Linked DNA regions of Homo sapiens: region 1 is linked to region 2. Evidence: promoter capture Hi-C in 16 types of primary human blood cells and fetal thymus (Javierre and others, 2016). All regions are on one chromosome and are shown on one strand. Each heading gives the region's core, a stretch centred on a gene start or on the middle of the fragment in contact. The rest is flanking DNA. Distances are from core to core; before and after follow the strand shown. Region 1 holds the start of LOC105375567 (a long non-coding RNA gene). Region 2 holds the start of ZNF862 (zinc finger protein 862).

Region 1 (3,927 bases), core at 372-2,871, 1.0 Mb after region 2:
AAGGCCCTGGCAGCTTCAGTGTCTGGGGAGGGCCTGCTTCCTGGTGCATGGACTGGCCATCTTCCCACTGCGTCCTCACATGGTGGAAGGGACAAGAGAGTTTTCTGCGGTCTTTTTTTTTTTTTATAAGGGCATTAATCTCATTTGTGAGGGCACTGCCCTTGTGACCTAATCACCTTCCAAAGGCCCCATCTCCTAATGCTACCACTATGGAGATTAAGATTTCAACACATGAATTTGAGGGAGACATACTCAGTCCATTGCAAGATGTCACCATTAGAGAAATCCAGTTGAAGGTTCACAGAACTCCGTACTCTTTTTGCTACCTCTTGTGAGTTTATAATTACGCCAAAACTAAAAAGCTTTCTTAAAAATATATATACAAATTCTCAAGTAAAATATAGTAAACTTGTTACTTTTTCAGGTATTTGATGCCTTTATCTGTAAATTCTTTCAAAGGAAATATGGCATGAACAAATATTGAGACAGGGATGTTTCACCAACTCTCAACTCCCCTTATTCAAGGGTTGGATCATAATAACTACATCTAAGTAATCCAGAAATTATCATTTTACTGAAAACCACGAAGACTATGTAGATGGAGAGAGATGAAAGAAGTACTATTTTTAAATCTGCAGCTTTATATCAATATACATAAATACATACCAGATAACCATATTTTATAAGAATACATATATATTCAAGGGTATATGTCAAATTTTAAAAAGAAAGGGGATTTGGCGTGGTCCTATCATTATGAAAGGGGATTCGGCGTGTTCCTGTCCTTATTTTACTCATCATGTCATCCCCTATCGTCTACCAGGCGTCCAGGCGCTGAGGACCAACCTTCTCTTCCTCCTCTGGCTAAGAAAACAATCAGCTTTCCCAGAGCCACCGCTGTCTGGACGCTAGATGGCGCCGCTGAGCTCCCCCCACCCCCCGCCTTTCCCCCACCCCCCCGCCTCCTCCCCACCACCCCGCCCACACCTGCGGTTCCTGCAGAGGGGTTGCTCAGGTGACCGGGCCGTTTGGACCACTTGGTTCAAATTCAGGATCCAGGTAGATGCAGCTGGGGAAAGCAGGGAGGAATGGGAGGCTACAGACAGAATGACCACATGCGTGCCTTCCTGCAGGGCTTGTCTTCTCCAAAGCCCCTGGTCAGTCACATGTTTTACTTGGCTCCCTTCCTTCTTCCTCGCCTTCTCCAGACCCTCTAAGCATGTGCCTTTGTCTCTTCCCAAACCTCCTGAGTCGCCTGAGGCCCTCTGGTGGTTCAATTCTTTATTGGAAGAACAAGCAACATGTTTACCCCAAGGGTTTCCACGGAGAAATACAAACACGTCTATTATTGGCAAGAAAAGCAGCACTGATTTGTTGAAGAACTAGGGAATTGTTCTAATTCTGCAGATTAGTCTCTTCTTGTCTTTGGTTGAAGTAACACAACCATCTCCATAGAGGTTCCTAAGCATAGAGGAAGATTGTATTGTAACAATACAAGGCTGCCGTAACTATGTAATTGGCCATAATTGAAGACAAGAATGGTGGGAAGTATGGGTTTGCAATTACCTAATATTCCTGTCCTAACCCATTTCAGGAGATCTTGCTGCGAGGTGCATGTTACCCATATAACAGACCCTGGGAGTATACCCAGGAGCAGTGGTGCGGATCACAGAAGGGGCTTTAAGACGCCCCTGGTGTTCTATGGCCATTAGCTACCAGTAGGAGCAGCTGCACCCCTGGCTGACCACAGATGTGGCTGTCAAACACAGTGAGTTAACAAAGGACAGTGAAACAGGGGGACGTGCAAGTCAGAGGAGATGCCTGCTTCCTCCTAGATCCCCACCATTTTCCTGGCTTTCTACTCTATTCCCAAAAAGAAGACACACTGGGGTAGAGGGCTGAGGGGAATAATTCAGTCCACAGATGCAGTTTTCTCTCTTTTTGCTACCATGGTTCTGAATGAAGAGCTAATATTATACTATTCCCACCTGTGATGAGCCCCAGTCCTTTTGATTCTTTTTCTTCTTCATCATCCATCCAAACGTCCCCAAGTGGTAAACAGGCCAGCAAACCTGTTATCCTCTCTTCTGTCCCTTCCACACATGTTTTAGCTTTAGTGGAAGCTCACAGAATAACCCTCAATTATCTGTTGTGGTCTGTGGCATTACCTTCTTAAAGGAAAGCTGATGGGTTCTTTCAACAGGTTTGGGGTCCACTCCCAGCTAACAATTAGTGTGACCTTAGCCGAGCACAGTGTCTCACGCCTGTTATCCCAGCACTTTGGGAGGCCGAGGCGGGTGGATCACGAGGTCGGAGATCAAGACCATCCTGGCTAACATGGTGAAACCCCATCTCCACGAAAAATAGAAAAGAAAATTAGCTGGGCGTGGTGGCGGGCGCCTGTAGTCCCAGCAACTCATGAGGCTGAGGCAGGAGAATGGTGTGAATCAGGGAGGCTGAGCTTGCAGTGAGCCGACATCGCGCCACTGCAGTCCAGCCTGGGTGACAGAGCAAGACTCCATCTCAAAAAAAATTGTGTGACCTTGTTTTCCTTTACCATTGTTTCTAGTTGCCCAGGAATCTAGTGGGAAGATGTGGCTATGGTCTGGGGCAGGATATTTTGGGAAGCCTGGTGTCCAGGGATATTAGGCAAACAAACTTTTGCATTGCACTTAATATTTCAGAAACCCAGCTGAATAGCTCTTATTTTTATGGCACTAAGAAAGTAAATCTTAAATCTTTGCTCTTAACACCATTAAGACAAAATTATTATGAAAATTGGACAAAGTGCCTTATAGCAGCTGATATATTTAAAACATCAATGATTGTACCCTTAGCATTGTTTTATTTTTATTTTTTAAAATTATCTAAACATTGTTTCAAAGCTTGTGAAACTACTAAAAGACAAAGGATTGTAAATGTCAATGAAAGGAAAAGTAAAACAGCAAGTATTTTAGCATACGGGGGCAATCAAGTCATAAAGAAAAAGGGTTAGTAGCTCACTAGACAATAAATTATTATAAAGAAGAGCCAAGAAAAGTATTGCTTTGAAACTTTTTACTTTTAACCTTCAGCCTTACTGAAGAATTTGTTCACTATACTTTAAAAATTTATTATTCTGATCATATTTTCCTTGATTTAAGAGTAGTGTCTTCAACATTAGCTGATATACCTACTAATAGCATCCCACGTCCTACCATCATTTCTTACATCTGACATCTTCTGCTGTTGATCCATAGGTTAACAAAACAAAACAGAAACTACACACAGAAAGAAAAAGAAAGGGAAGAAAGAAAAAAGAAGGAAGAGAAAAAAGCAGAGACCACTTCCAGAATGATTGTATGAGGAGCTCTGCAGACCTGCTCCCCAGCAAAACACTTATATCTAGTTAAATGATTTTTAAGCATTTAAAGTCTCTGGAAATTGTTCCCAATAAGAACAATGAGAATCTATGACACTTGAGCCATGACTCACTTCCTCTCTCCTCCATCCCCCCAACTCACTTAACAGAAGCTCCACTCTTCATGGACTTAGCCAGGAAAACACAGCTCCCTCTCCATCCAGCTCCCAGTCAAGCAATACAATGGCTCCCCAGAAGAGGCAGGCCACCAGAATTCCTCAGCCCCCATTTTGCACAGGCTAAATTGTAGATGAGTGCAGCTGAGAGAATGGAAGCTTCTCTCCTCCACCCAGTCCCCACTCATAGGTGGAGACTACCCCAGGTGATGCAGGCTGAAATTACTGAAGCCCCAATTGCGTTTGGATCAGAGGTTCCATGCTACAACAGCAACCTGAGAAGACAAGAGGCTACTGCCACCACGCAGAGCCCTGCTCTGTAAAGCAGGAGGGCTCTGAGAGAAGCCAGCCACAGCCCCTACCCCCAGGTCTTGAGCAGTGACTCAAAGATTTTGCCCAAAGGAAGAGGTA
Region 2 (4,117 bases), core at 1,507-4,006:
TGCAGTCAGCCAAGATCACGCAACTGCCCTCCAGTCTGGGTGACAGAGTGAGACCCTGTCTCTTAAAAAACAAAAACAAACAAAAAAATTAAACAAATTAAAAAAATCAGTGCCCATGCCCCATCCTAGGCCTATTAAATCAGGATGTTTGAAAGGTCCATGGGTGATTCCAATGTGCAGCTGGAATTGAGAATCACTTTCCTACCATCATAATTACTCCTGCAAGTACTGTTCATTCCCTTGCTTTTCTGTGCCTCCTTCATACCTACCTGGCAATACTCCAAGCCAGGATGAAGCCAAATATCTACCCAACTTTCTGCTTCTAAACAGAATTTCGCAGCCAGGCTTTTTTTAAACTGAAATTTGTGATCATAAACTTCAAATTGGCCTTTAATTCAAGGTTTGAGGTAAGCTCTATTTCCCATTCTCCAAGATGACTTGGTATACCTTCTATTCCCCACTTCATTTTCATGAGATGATCTTGTCTCAAAGAGACATCATCGGATGGAAATTCCCTCAGTAAATCTACAAACAAATGTACATCTACTCCATCTTCTTCTTCCCTCCTGGCATAACCAAAAGTGTTGCTATCCCGGCCAGACGCGGTGGTTCAGGCTTGTAATCCCAGCACTTTGGGAGGCCAATGCAGGTGAATCACTTGAGGTCAGGAGTTCGAGACCAGCCTGGCCAACATGGTGAAATCCTGTCTCTACTAAAAATACAAAAATTAGCAGGGTGTGATGGTGCACGCCTGTAGTCCCAGCTACTCAGGAGGCTGACACAGGGGAATTGTTTGAACCTGGGAGGTGGAGGTTGCAGTGAGCCAAGATTGAGCCACTGCACTCCAGCCTGGGTGACAGAGAGAGACTCCATCTCAAAAAAAAAAAAAAAAAAAAAAGTGTTCCTATCCCTAGGAAGGGCCCTCGATACCCTGTTCCTAGACCCTCCTGATTTCTCAAGGACTTGGTTCCTTGCACTATCCCCCTTTGAATCATCAGTTTCCTTCCCATCAACACAGAAACAAGATCTTGTGACTCATATCTTAGTCCTACTGCTTTGATTCCCCATTTCCCCCTAGATACTGCTCCATTTTTCTTGGAAAGATGGAAAACCTTTTATGGAAAAATGTGTCAAAAGAATGATTTACCCTAGCTGTCCTCCAGTTTTTTAACCCCTAAAAGAGAATCTGTTATAAAGACATGGATAACTCATGGGCAGAAATATAGCTCTTCAAGGTAGTGATATAGTCGAGGTGGTGAGTGGCAGGCCACTTGGAATCCACAGAGTCCTCACTCTCTGCCTTCTCCTCCACATTTCTTGTGTCTCATTCTTTTTTTCAGTAATGCAGACTCCCCTACACTCCTCGAACGGAATTTAGGTCTATTCAACCTTGGCCAGAAGAGCAGAGCTGGATAATGGAAAACGCTTACTTGAAGCCTGTGTAACATGGTGAAACCCTGTCTCTACTAAAAATACAAAAAAATTAGTTGACCATTGTCTTAATCTCTATGTGCTTCTGTAACAAAATCCCTGGAACTAGGTAATTTATAAATTATGGATACTTATTTCTTATGATTCTGGAGGCTGGGAAATCCAAGATCAAAGCACCAGCAGTGTCTGTGTCTGGTGAGAGCCTGGTCTCTGCTTCCAGGAGGGCACCTTTTTGCTCTGTCCTCACATGGCAGAAGGCAGAGGGGCAGAAGGGCAAAGGGCCTAGCTAGTTCCCCCAGCACGCATGTGGTCACTAACACCTTCATGAAGGCACATCCCTGCCCTGGCCCCCTAAAAGTCTTTTTTTTTTTTGAGACATGGTCTTGCTCTGTCACCCAGGCTGGAGTGCAGAAGCGCCATCCCGGCTTACTGCAGCCTCGACCACCCAGGCTCAAGTGATCCTTCCACCTCACAAAATTATTTTATTTTTATAGAGATGGGATCTCTCACTGTGTTGCACAGGCTGGTCTCAAACTACTGGGCTCAAGTGATCCTCCTGTCTCAGCCTCCCAAAGAGTTGGGATTAGAGGTGTGAGCCACCGCACTTGGACAAAACTTCTTATAAGGACACTAATCCCACCATAAGGGCCTGACCCTCACGACTTCATCTAAACCTCCCAAACGCCCCATCTCCTGGGAGGGGAACACCGGTCAGTCCATTGCACCTCCTTTACCTGGCAGACCCTACCTCTTGCTTTAATTCTGCTGAGGCATCACTTCCGCAGGAAATCCTTGACTAAGCACCTCATATCCCCCACCGCTTCACTCTAAGGTGACAACGCGGGCTTTAATTCATGTTTTGTGCTTACCTCTTTCATAGCCCTTGTCTCTGTTTTGTAATTATCTGTTTCTGGTCTGATTCCCTAATAGATCGTGAGTTCCTTGAAGGCAAGGCCTTTGTCTCATTCAACTGTGTTCTCCCAAACCCTAGAACACGGCCTGACCCATGGTAGGCAACCAATGATACTTTTTGAGTGAATAGAACAAAAAGTATTGCCCTCCTTAATAAAAGAAAACCTAGAACTTCAAGGCTGACATTGGCCTTCGCGTAGCCCAATCAGAGCGCTTTGCCCTTGCTGCAGAGGACTAAAGGACGCCACGCCGCCGTTGCCTAGTAACTGTCGCCGGAGGGAGGCGGGGAGGGTCGCAAGCGCGCCGCCGGCGTCCAATCAGGACCTGCGTTCCGGGAGCCAATAGCAGCTTCGAGAGCCGCTCACCTAGAGCGGACTACACTTCCCGTCACGCCCCGCCGCCTGGGGCTGGGCAGTGACCGTAAAGCTGTTCGCTCGGTGCGACGCAAGTCTCAGCTCAGCGCGCTTATCCTGGGTCCACCGGCGCTACCGCCCCCCGACGTGAGAGAGCGAAGTTCTTGGGCCGCGCTCCCTCCCTACCTGGGTGCCCTCCCCCTCCGGGAGCCTGGGTCCCCGGGGCGGTCGCGGCGGCTGCATCCTCAGGCCAGGCCGCGGGGGGAGGGGGCGGCACGGGCCTCCGAAAGCGGGGCCATGGAGCCCAGAGAGTCGGGGAAGGTAGGACTGGAAGGCCCGGGGGCCGCCCGCTCCCTCCCGAGGATCCCCGAGCCGGGCTCGGGCGAGGCGGGGCGGCTCGGGCGGAGGCCCCGCAGATGAGCCAGGCTTGCAGGGAAGGACTCGCCGGCCCGCCCTCTCTTCCCGCACTTCGGCGCCCGACCCCGGGAGGGTGGCGGAGAGGAGCGGACGCTTCCGTTCGGTGTCCGCGCATCCTCCCCGAGCTGCCGAGCGTCCGCTGGGTCGATGCTGGGTTGGGTGACCCCCGAGTGGAGCGATGCGAAGGTGCTTCCTGTTTTCCCCACCACCTTCGGCGTTTTGAAGAGGCCCTGCTAAGGCTTGGAGTCTGGATCGGACGCCAGTGGGAGCTGCAGGGTGGGACGCTTGAGGGCTTGACCCTGCCTAGATCCTCCTTACCAAGAAAGGGCTGAAAAGAGAGGGCATCTGGCATGCTTTTTGCCACTTCTGTTTCTAGGTTATGTACTTCATGGAATATCTGGGCATTGCTTAGAAACCTGTGTCATAAATTGGCTTTGGGCAAGAGGCTTTGAGTTGGAAGAAAAGGTGGAAAGAAAGTGCTTGGGGGCGGAGTTCAGGGATTTGACGGGATTGCCAGCGCTTCCAGGCCGTGTCATCCAAGACCAGTGTGGTTGTGGGCACATTAGCTTGGAGACAGTGGCAGCCTCTTGGGACTAACATCTTTCTGGATGTTGTTTGCTGCCAGTTCTTGAGTATTGTTTCTTATTTGGCACAGAGGAGAATTCTCTCAACAAACGTTTTCGACTGTTTATTGAGTCCCTTAAAAAACTGTCCATTTAATAAACATTTGTGATCTGTGATTTGCATTGAACGAGATGCTGGAAGTATGAGGATAAATAGGAAATGATCACCTTTCTCAAGGAGCTCTCCTGCAGTTTTCACTTCAATAACTTGGACACGCCTGAAAGGGTTGTCCCACACGAAAAGAGAGAAAAGGATAATGAGGTTCTTTTGATGCTGTAGTTTTTCCTGGGAAGACTAGGAAGGACTCTGAATTTCAAAAGAGGTGATTTCTCGCATGAGCATCTCTTCCATCCTCCCTCCCTCCACAAGCTACAGTGATG

What was found. Contacts are between HindIII fragments. The CHiCAGO score rates a contact against its expected background, and 5 or more counts as called.
Region 1: a contact is called between a fragment that was not itself captured here and the fragment with the promoter of ZNF862 in region 2, in 2 of 17 cell types (activated CD4 T cells and naive CD8 T cells). The highest score is 6.4, in activated CD4 T cells.

What each region holds. Positions count from the first base shown.
Region 1 is chr7:150,876,022-150,879,948 of GRCh38, forward strand. It overlaps LOC105375567 (a long non-coding RNA gene), which reads right to left and starts at 1,109. Exons shown (of 5, transcript XR_928171.3): 1 at 988-1,109. The HindIII fragment of the contact is 2,523 bases long and covers 361-2,883 here.
Region 2 is chr7:149,835,619-149,839,735 of GRCh38, forward strand. It overlaps ZNF862 (zinc finger protein 862), which reads left to right and starts at 2,757. Exons shown (of 8, transcript NM_001099220.3): 1 at 2,757-3,017. The coding sequence starts at 2,994. RefSeq lists a silencer at 2,833-3,292. The HindIII fragment of the contact is 19,921 bases long and covers 1-4,117 here.